Regions from separate parts of the Homo sapiens genome. Here region 2 is linked to region 1. The links are contacts of gene promoters, found by promoter capture Hi-C in human tissues and cell types (Jung and others, 2019). All regions are on one chromosome and are shown on one strand. Each heading gives the region's core, a stretch centred on a gene start or on the middle of the fragment in contact. The rest is flanking DNA. Distances are from core to core; before and after follow the strand shown. Region 1 holds the start of ZBTB8B (zinc finger and BTB domain containing 8B). Region 2 has its middle 23 kb from the start of BSDC1.

Region 1 (5,449 bases), core at 1,067-3,566:
ATCTATCAGCAGGGGAGAGATCATATCTTATCTCTTCCCTGCTTAAGATCCTTCGAAGGTGTCCCTTCACATTCATAAGAAAAAATCCAAACTCCTTAAGGTGGCCTACAAATTCCTACATAATCTGGCCTTTGCTTCTCTATCCATTCATATTTCCTGTCGCTTGGACTGGCTACATAATTTGTGGGGCCCAATGCAAAATGAAAATGCAGAGCTCCTTGTTCAAAAACTACTAAGAATTTTAAGAGGGCAATGGCAGAGCATTAAACCAGGCATCAGCCCTTTCCTTTTTTTTAATTTTTAAAATATTTATTTAGATTTTCTTTTTGTTAGTAATTAAATCTTTCTTCTTCTTCTTCTTCTCCTCCTCCTCCTTCTCCTTCCTCTCCTTCCTCTTCCTCTTCTTCTTCTTCCCTCTTCCCTCTCTCCTCCTCCTCGTCCTCCTCCTCCTTGAAACAGTGCAGTGGCACAATCTCAGCTCACTGCAACCTCCACTTTCCATGTTCAAGTGATTCTCATGCCTCAGCCTCCCGAGTAGCTGGGATTACAGGTATGTGTCACCATGCCCAGCTAATTTTTGTATTTTTAGTAGACACTGGGTTTTGCCATGTTGGCCAGGCTGGTCTCAAGTGATCCGCCCGCCTCAGCCTCCCAAAGTGCTGGGATTACAGGTGTAAGCCACCGCACCTGGCTCTTTTTTTGTTTTGTTTTGTTAAGTATAAAACCTCACCTGGAAGCACCAGCCCTTTCTGAGTGTGCGGGCCTGTGCCACTGCGTGGGTTGCACGTCCATTAAGCTGGTCTACCTGCCATCCACTTCCTCAACCCAATGGCATTCTCCTGTTTCTTAGATATGTACCAACCGGTTTTCTGTTTTATCTTAGCATGGCTCACTACTCCTCATTAGGGTCTCTCAGCGAAGGGGGTAGCCTTTTTTTTTTTTTTTTTTTTTTTTGAGACAGAGTCTTGCTCTGCTGCCCAGGCTGGAGTGCAGTGGCCAGATCTCCACTCACTGCAATCTCTTTGGTTCAAGCATTCTCCTGCCTCAGCCTCCCAAGTAGCTGGGATTACTGGCCCACGCCCGGCTAATTTTTGTATTTTTAGTAGAGATGGGGTTTCACCATGTTGGCCAGGCTGGTCTCGGACTCCTGACCTCAGGTGATCCACCCGCCACCACTCCAGCCTGGGCAACAGAGTCTGAGACTCCGTCTCAAAAAAAAAAAAAAAAAAAAAAAAAAAGTCATACTGGCATAGAGTGAACCCCTAATCCAATATGACTGGTATCCTTATAAAAATACTTTTTTTTTGGAGACGGAGTCTCTCTCTGTCGCCCCAGGCTGGAGTGCAGTGGCGCGATCTCGACTCACTGCAACCAAAAGGAGACATTTTGACATGGAGACATATACAGGGAATATGCCCTGTGAACATGAAGATGGCCATATGCAAGCCCAGGAGAGAAGCCTGGAAGAGACCGTTTCCTCACAGCGCTCAGAAGGAAAGAACCCTGCCAACATCTTGCTTTCAGATGCCCCCAGGATTGTCAGACAATAAGATCTGTTATTGACGCCACCGGGTTGGTGATACTTAGGTACAGCAGCCCTAGCAAACGAATACACCCCCATGAGAACTAAGCTCCCTGAGAGCGGTAAGCTGCCTTGTCTTGCTCACAGCTGACAAGAACACGCCTGTACGGTCACTTAGCACCTAGTACTGCCATTTAACCGTTTCACTAGTATGTATGAACCGGAGAGCCTGTCAAGGGAAGAGCTGAATCTTTTATCTTTTGTAACGACTACCCAGTGAAAGAAACCGCGGGTATGCAATAAAAACCTGTTGAATCGATTAAACCATTTCCCTTATTTCCAGATTTTTGCGGAAAGCGCCAGTAGGTGAAATATGTGCGGACTGATGAGTCAAAGCTCTTATTCCCTGGACTGCATTAATACCCACGACGTGCTTTTCGCTCTCCAGACAAAGAGACCGGTACTTGGCAGGTCCCTCAAGTGGGACTCAAAAGACCGAACCGAGCTGCAGCCTTTCGCTAGCACTGGTCCTCGCCCCTTTTGGCATCTTGGTACTTGTAGTTTTGTCCACTCTATCTTTACCCGAAAAGCCAGCGCTGAGACCACAACTCCCATCACCCTGCGAGCACCAGCGCCTTCAGAGCGCATCCTCCGAGGGGCACCAGCGCCATTGACCACCCTGCTGGCCGAAGGGCCCGCCTTCCCGAGGCCAGGCGCTCCCGCGATTGGCCAGCCGCCCCGCCTCTCATCGGAGGGCGCCAGGTGAATGAAAGGGGGGCGTGTCGGTGCGCGGTGCTCCGTGGCTGCGCTGCTGGAACCCGCTGGAAGGTGAGCGCGAAGAAGCGGGTTGGCGCTGCCGCTTTCGTTGGTTTGGGGAGGATTCCTAGCACCCGGGAGGCTGGCTGGAGATTGGGGTTAGCGGGCAGGGTTGCCCCCACTCAGTCATCCTCCTTCGGACCGCTTGGCCCTGGCAACTCCTGGGACCTCCGCCCCGCGAGCCCTTCTAGCGTGGGGAGGGGCAGGCGCGGCCGTGGGGCCCCAGCTTCCCTGTCATTGGGTGTCCTCCGCGTCGTCCAGCCGGGGGTCGCGGCGCCGACTACTTCCACGGTGAATGGTGCCCAGGCGTGGGGGGCTCGGCCACACTGGAGAAGTGCCAGCGGCAGCGATGGCCACTTTGTCCGCGGGAGGCCATGGGAGGGGCTAGGCCTTGGGGTCCCACCCTCGGGGGCCGTGCCCTGTAGCTGGTTCTGGTGGCCTCTCTGCAGGTCGTCTGATGCTGGACGGGGGAGGGTCTGTCTTGCGAGCAGTTTAGATGCAGTTGACCCTGAAATTCTTCGTATGGAAATGGAAACTTCTCCAGTGTCCTTCTCCTCCGATCCATGCCTAAAAGAAAGGAGTGACTTCCCCAACCTGTCGCATCGTGTCCTGGAGGGTTTGAGGAGGCCGGTTAGCATAGTGGTTAAGGATGTCAACCCGGGAGTCAGTCGGATCTCTGTTCTATTACTAACTTGGTGATGTTATCTGCATCTTTGAATCTCAGTTCCTCCTCTGAAAAAGAGGATGTAGTTAGAGTATCTGTCGTACTGGATTATTGTGAGGTGAAAACTAATGTGCTTGTAAAAGCCAGGCATGGTGGCGCGCACCTGTAGTCCCTGCTACTCGGGAAGCTAAGGTTGGGAGGATCTCTTGAGCCCAGGAGTTCCAGGCTGCATTGAGGTAGGATCGTGCACTCCAACCTGGGCAACCGAGCAAGACCGTGCCTTTTAAAAATTTTAATTTAAAAAGTAAAATGAATATGCTTGTACTTTGTACAGTGTTTTATAAGGAATAGTGCTTAATATTTACTAAAATTGAGGAGCAGGTTTTTGTTATTCTCAGGTTGGTGGGACTGGAGGAGTCTTGTCAGAAAGGGTCGGAGGTGGAATTCAAGGCTGCTTTTGGCCTCTGAACAGAGACAGTTGTGTGATCTGGCTAGGACTCCCTCAAGGGTATATGAGAGTTTGTATTGCAGGTAGTTGTGTTGGCATCTGCTGTCTCCTGGAGGACAGGCACTATACTTGGTTCATTTTTCTATTCCTGGCATCTTCCTTGTGTCAGGCATTGTATGTAGCCGGTAACCGTTGAATTGAGTTGGAACCGTGGGATGGTTGGGAGGTTCCCTGCCAGAGTGCGGATAAATGTGCTTCTGAGAGCAGTCTGCCCTAAGAGCTGCTCTTCTGGGATAAGTGGTGATCCTCAGCACTTCCCGGGGCAGCAGAGCACTTCAGGCAAATGGGGGTGATATAAATAAATATTTACACAATATATACCAAGTACAGGATTGGGGAAAATTTTGAAGAAAATACTATACGGATAGACTTTTGCAACGTCAGGAAGTAGAATAAAAATAATTGCAATAGAATAAAAAATAATTTCAGTAAGAAAGCCAAAAGAAATTGGTTTTAGGTGCTATTTCTGGAAAGGAGGCTTTTCCAGTGAAAGACGGAAGTGCCCTGGGAAGAGCCCCTATAGATCAGACCATACTACAAGTTAAGAAGTGTTGTGCGTACTTACATATTTATCTACCTGGCTTACCAACTCCTTACCCCTCTGCCCTGCCTCCTTTTTTTCTTAGTTAACAAAGAAAAAAGCCAAGGCAGAAGGATCACTTGAGTCCAGGAGTTCAAGACCATTGAGACCAGCCAGGGCAACATAGTGAGACCCCATCTCTACAAAAAAATGTTTTCAGAATTAGCTGAGTGTGGTGCTGCATGCCTGTAGTCACAGCTACTTGGGAGGCTGAGGTAGGAGGATTGCTTGAGCCTGGGAGGTCGAGGCGGCAGTGAACTGTGATCATGGACTGCACTCCAGCCTGGGTAACAAAGTAAGACCCCGTCTCAAAAGAAAAGAAAAGCAATACATGCACATAGTAAAACATTCTATCAGAAAGGTTTAAAATGAAAGGCGAAAGTCCCTCCACACACTTGTTTTTTTTTTTTTTTTTGAGATGGAGTCTCGCACTATCGCCCAGGCTGGAGTGCAGTGGCACAATCTCTGCTCACTGCAGCCTCCGCCTCCACCGCCTCCTGGGTTCAAGTGATTCTCCTGCCTCAGCCTCCCGAGTAGCTGGGATTACAGGTGCCCGCCACCATGCCCAGCTAATTTTTTTGTATTTTTAGTAGAGACGGGGTTTCACTACGTTGGCCAGGCTGGTCTCGAACTCCTGACCCCAGGTGATCTACCCACCTTGGCCTCCCAAAGTGCTGGGATTACAAGTGTGAGCCACCACACCCGGCCCCAAGTGGATTTTAAACTTGGTTTATAGTTTATCTACTAAGCAGTTAAGAAATGAATATTCCTTTTTTGCTTAACAAATCTATTTTGTCCAAAGCACTCTGCCAGATACTGTAAGGGATATAAAATTGAATAAGACATGGCTCATGCTTTCAAAGGGCTTGTAGTTCATTGACAGAGAAGGGCCAGGACATAAATAATAAACAGGAGTTAACCAAGGGTAGTGGAATCAGTCAGTTAGGAGTCTCCCAGTTGCATGAAATAGAAAACCCAACTCAGAGGCCAGGTGTGGTGTCTCACACCTGTAACCCCAGCACTTTAGGAGGCTGAGGGGGGCAGATCACTTGAGGCCAGGAGTTCGAGACCAGCCTGGGCAACATGGCAAAACCCTGTCTCTACCAAAAGTACAAAAAAAATTAGCCTGGCGTGGGGGTGGGTACCTGTAGTCCCAGCTACTCGGGAGGCTGAGGTAGGATGATTACTTTAGCCAGGGAGGCGGAGGTCAGAGTGGGCCGAGATCACACCACTGCACTGCAGCCTGGGTGACAGAGTGAGACCCCATCCCCCATCTCAAAAAATAATAATAATAATATTTAAAAAAGAAAACCCAACTCAGACCAGCTAAACCAAAAAGGAACTTAATTGGCTTCTGGC
Region 2 (5,449 bases), core at 1,444-3,943, 47 kb before region 1:
AAAGAGAGACTTAGGCCAATTTTCTGACAACCCCAATAGGTATATAGAAGCTTTCCAAAATGTAACTTAGGTATTTGACCTCTCATGGAGGGGTGTTATGCTTCTCCTAAGCCAAACCCTAACCACAGCTGAGAGCCAGCCAGCTCTGTAGGCAGCAGAGAAATTTGGAGATGAGGAATATGTCTCCCATAGTAGGCCTAAAAGGAAAAGAGAAAATACGAAAGGCAAAAAAAAAAAAAACGGGAAACACCATTCCCAATAGGAAGAGAGGAAATACCTCTTGACAACCCTAACTGGAACACCCAGACTTTTCTACAGTGTTTTTCCTTCTTTCACAGTTTATTTATTTTTATTATTTGTTATTTATTTTTTTTGAGATTGAGTTTCACTCTTGTTGCCCAGGCTGGAGTGAAGTGGCGTGATCTCAGCTCACTGCAACCTCTGCCTCCTGGGTTCAAGCGATTCTTCTGTCTCAACCTCCTGAGTGGCTAGGATTACAGGCATGCACCACCACGTCCAGCTGATATTTTGTATTTTTAGTAGAGATGGGGTTTCACCATGTTGGCCAGGCTGGTCTCAAACTCCTGACCTCAGGTGATCTGCCCACCTCGACCCGCCAAAGTACTGGGATTACAGGCATGAGCCACTGTACCTGGCCTACTTTCACAGTTTAAAATGGCTCTTTCATAATGTTCTTCCAAACTGGGAAAAGTTAGTTTCTCCAAACCTTAAAATGCTTGGCTTAGAGTTGAGCTAGGGGAAGGGAACCCAGAAGCCTGACACGCTGGCAAAAGGGTAGAAGTTTTTTCTAACAGTCAAGCTTTTGGCTTTTCTCTCCCTATGCAAACCAGCGAAAGGGATAATAAGGTTCATTGTTTATATTCTCTGTAAAGTTTTAATTAATCAAAAAAAATCGTGAGGTTGGTCTTAAGCTGTAGCCATTCTGATGTGCTTTGTGTGTCTTTCCATATGGTTCTGTTAAGAGAAAGGGTACCTTAGGTTCGGATACAGACCGTGGACCTCATAAGCCTGCTGTTCAAGGCAGCCCAACAGAATGGTCAGTAATAAACTTGGCTACAGGTCTCTATCTTGTTTCATGTCCTTGGGATCATGACCCATAACCACATGGCAGTACTTTGTTTTAGTTGCCACCATTTTACATGATGGCTGTCTTCTTATGCTAAATCAGTTCCTGAGTGAGGGCCACAAAATCAGATAAGCCAGTTTGTCAACCTGGATGGTGCCAGCTGATCCATCCAGGGGAGGGTTTAAAAATGTCTTCAGCACTGATCTTTTTTTTTTTTTTTTTTAAGGTGGAGTCTCGCTCTGTCACCCAGGCTGGAGTGCAGTGGCGCCATCTCGGCTCACTGCAAGCTCTACCTCCCGGGTTCACGCCATTCTCCTACCTCAGCCTCCTGAGTAGCTGGGACTACAGGCGCCTGCCACCACGCCCGGTTAATTTTTTTTTTTGTTTGTATTTTTAGTAGAGATGGGGTTTCACCATGTTAGCCAGGATGGTCTTGATCTCCTGACCTCATGATCTGCCCGCCTCAGCCTCCCAAAGTGCCAGGATTACAGGTGTGAGCCACCGCACCCAGCCAGCACCGATCTTGAGAGCAGTTTAGGGAGAGTCAAAATCTTGTAGGCTCCAGCTGTGTGACTTCTAGGCCATGGTTTTTAATCTTGTGGCTAGTTTCCTGGTCTGGTACCCAGGCAAGAAGGAAGTAAATCTTAAGAAGGGGCTGTCATCATCTTTATTTTAGACTATAAACTCTAAACCAGGCTCCTCCCAAAGTTGGTTTGGTCTACGCCCAGGGATAAGCAAGGAAAGCTTGGGGGCTGGAAACAAAATGGAGTTGGTTGGGTTGGATCTCTTTCACTATCGTGGTCACAATTTTGAAATGACAGTTTCAAAAACCGCCTATCACCCCTTTAAAAATACCTTGTACACATGCACTCATGGTTAAGTCATAACCTAATTAAGGCTTGTCGATTTCACCTGTGAGGTTACTTTTTGTAAATTTCAAAAGCCAAAAATCTTAACTGCTTGAGGTGGCTAATGTCAAGTTACAAGGGATTTAAAAGGATTTTGTTAAAGAGTACTCAGGTTAATTAAAAGTGGATATTCAAGTTATAGGTATATTTTAATGGCCTTTATGTTTTTCTCTTTTTGGATCTTGTTTTTCTGGAAAAAGGTTTTTTCCTTCTCAGTTGACTGAATTATTAGTCTACATTTTTTATCTTGCCACTCGTAATGCACAATGAGAGGCTCTAAGATAACTTCTGGTAGCATGGGATTCCTTGGGAAAACCAGAGGAGGCACCACAGACCCTGTTTTGGGAGAAAAACCTCGTTTTCCCCATGAAACCCCAGGAACTAGAAGCAGATATTTCTCTCTCAAAATCAAAGGCTTTATTTTTGCATTATGTTTTGCATTATGTTATCTGACAGTTTTGAATTTTGGGAGTATCAAATTACATTAGGAGAGAGGTTTGGTGTGTAATAACTAGGTAGCAAATACACTTTAAGGGATGGCTAATAGTAGTTATAAATCAGAGAAGCATGCTCTTGGTCACCTGAAAGATACAGAAACATTCCCCCTATCCCCACAACGAGAGATGAGACTCCCATGGGAGATGGGCTAATTACAAAATAAGTTGATTGGCTTTGGGTTGCTTTGCAATGAAATGCACAGTAGAAGCACTGCACTGTCTTCTCCCATAGTATCTCTCCTATTTGGGGGATCCAATATCAAATGACACCCTTAATTTTGAGGATCTGTCTTTGCCTTCAGCCGTGCCTGCTTATTATGCCCTAGAAATGCATGCCTTCCTGGCCCTGTTCCTCCAAGGGCTCCACCCTGAAACCAATAATTTAATTAAGAAACCGGCAAATAAAAAATCTAACAAGTGCTGAATCTTGTGTCTGTGTCGCTATATATGTTTTGTGTGTAATGTCTATAAAAAGAGCTCTAATTGATTGGCTGAAAGAAAAATAAGGGCTTAAATCAAATATTTTTTAGTTCACGTGACTTTAGTCTTTAAGAAATTAGTCATAAGGATTATTGGTAAAATGCAAATAGGTGGTCTAATACATACAACTTAGATACTAGGTTTGCTAAATGTTCCAAGGTTGTATACTGCCTGCTTTGCAGATGGGTAAGGCCTGGGACATGTGGAGTTAGATGCTGGAAAGAGTCAGACCTTATCTGCACTTCTGTCTGGGTCCTAGGCTCCACACTTGGTACATAATTAAAATTGCTTACTTACCAGGTTTTTCACCAAAAGTAAAAGTTGCTAAGAGTTAACAGTGCAGCATGTATTTGAGATCACTAAACAGTTTTACATGCAAGGTGTATAAAAACAGTAAAATGTGTTTTTTAGTAAAGATTATAAGAAAGCATGGAAATGTAAATTTTGCCCTGGTATGAGGGATTATGTTAAATTTGATAAGAGAGCTAGAGGTTTAAGCAAGTTATAGAAAGATTGTAAAAAGTAATCTTGCAAAAAATGTATAAAAATTAACTGAATTCAAAAGGATATTATATGGTTTTTTCATAAATTGAACATTGAAATAAAAGCACAGCAAGGTTGTCTTAAGACACTAATCTGCCCTTTAGCAAAAGGGGTTATAAAGGGTTTGTAAAGATTTCACCTTGTGGTCAAATTGACCACCTCATGGTCAATAGATAGAATTGTCTATAAGGTTTCATTTAAACACATTGGGGTTAACATTAACAAACTAATGCAAGGTTAAAATTTGTCTTTAAGCAGAATTTTTATGTAATAGTAAAGGCTAATGAATGGTTTTTGCCTTCTGAGTCATCATTTTGGCAAAATAAATAATTTATGGCATTCTAGAATTCTATTTCATAACATCAAGTGTTTTAAACCTCTAACATTTAACAGGCATCCCAAAATCAAACTTCAAGTTTCAAAATTGTCTTTCCTGATGCCTGGCTTTCTGGATGGTTCACAGTTCCCCTGAATAATCCAGAGAAGAGGTAAACAGGATTATTTGACATGTTTAGTCACATGAGATTGCCAAAATGATGTCTAAGCTTCTTTTTTTTTTTTTCTTTTTTTGAGATGGTGTCTCACTCTGTCACCCAGGCTGGAGTGCAGTGGTGCAATCTCTGCTCACTGCAAGCTCTGCCTCCCGGGTTCACACCATTCTGCTGCCTCAGCCTCCCGAGTAGCTGGGACTACAGGTGCCCGCCACCATACCTGGCTAATTTTTTGTATTTTTAGTAGAGACAGGGTTTCACCGTGTTAGCCAGGATGGTCTCGATCTCCTGACCTCGTGATCTACCCACCTTGGCCTCCCAAAGTGCTGGGATTACAGGCATGAGCCCCTGCGCCTGGCGGTTTTTTTTTTTTTTTTTTTTTTGAGATGGAGTTTTGCTTTTGTTGCCCAGGCTGGAGTGCAACGGCACGATCTCAGCTCACTGCAACCTCCGCCTCCCGGGTTCAAGCCTTTCTCCTACCCTCAGCCTCCCGAGTAGCTGAGATTACAGGCATGTGCCACTGCACCTGGCTAATTTTTTGTATTTTTAATAGAGACGAGGTTTCTCCACGTTGGTCAGGCTGGTCTCGAACTCCCAACCTCAGGTTATCTGCCCACCTTGGCCTCCCAAAGTGCTGGGGTTACAGGCCTGAGCCACCATGCCCAGCCAATGTCCAATCTTCTTTAAGTTATATTTTGGTGAATTATACTAATACATGTTCCAAAATCATATGAGATTTCTAAAATTCTAATGTATGAGTATATGCTATCAATCGTAATTAAGGTTGTTATGTTAAGTTATTGTAAACCACAAATATAACTAAACTTCTTTGTCAGTCATGTTTTTAACTGTAACTACCCTGGAAATTTTGTCATTCACAGATAATTTTTGTCTTGCTTTGTTCCTTCTCAAAAGATGGGTTATAATCAAGCTATAAGACTTTAACAGGTGTTCTCAAAGGCAGGTTTTTAATAGCTTTGAAGATTGTAACATTGTAATAGAGAAAGAATGTATGGGACTCATGAATAACTGAAATGTTCACGAATATCAAGCAAAACAAGAGCTAACTAAATGGACTGCACTCAGAAAGTTAAAGCAACCTTTTTGACTTTTGCTTGAAATATTGCTGATCCTTGTTTGGTTTTTCAGAGTCAAGGAAATGTATTTTGAACGACTTATGGCCTTATATAATTGAGTAAGGCATACTCTTGTGAACAAAATTTGGAGCATGTTTCTGTCTGCCTGGTTCCTCTAGAATTTGGAAACTATCTGCACGTATTCTTAACTTATGACAATATAGTTGTTTGCATCGGTGCGATAAGAATCCATTTTTCTTTTGCAACAGGACACAATTGGAAAACCTGGTTATTTTACCAAGGCTTTGACTGGAAGGGTATGCTTTCCTTTAAGGAGTCAATCTTGACTTGCTGAGCTGATAAAAGC

The links. The method cuts DNA at HindIII sites, captures the fragments that hold promoters and counts their contacts. A contact is called where the count stands out against the background at its distance.
Region 2: a fragment that was not itself captured here is called in contact with the fragment with the promoter of ZBTB8B in region 1 in 2 of the 25 tissues and cell types used here (H1 embryonic stem cells and mesenchymal stem cells).

Annotation. Positions count from the first base shown.
Region 1 is chr1:32,462,756-32,468,204 of GRCh38, forward strand. It overlaps ZBTB8B (zinc finger and BTB domain containing 8B), which reads left to right and starts at 2,317. Exons shown (of 4, transcript NM_001145720.2): 1 at 2,317-2,350. The HindIII fragment of the contact is 24,686 bases long and covers 1-5,449 here.
Region 2 is chr1:32,415,162-32,420,610 of GRCh38, forward strand. No RefSeq gene overlaps it. Among named protein-coding and RNA genes, the nearest start is that of BSDC1, 23 kb to the left of the region's middle. The HindIII fragment of the contact is 4,517 bases long and covers 436-4,952 here.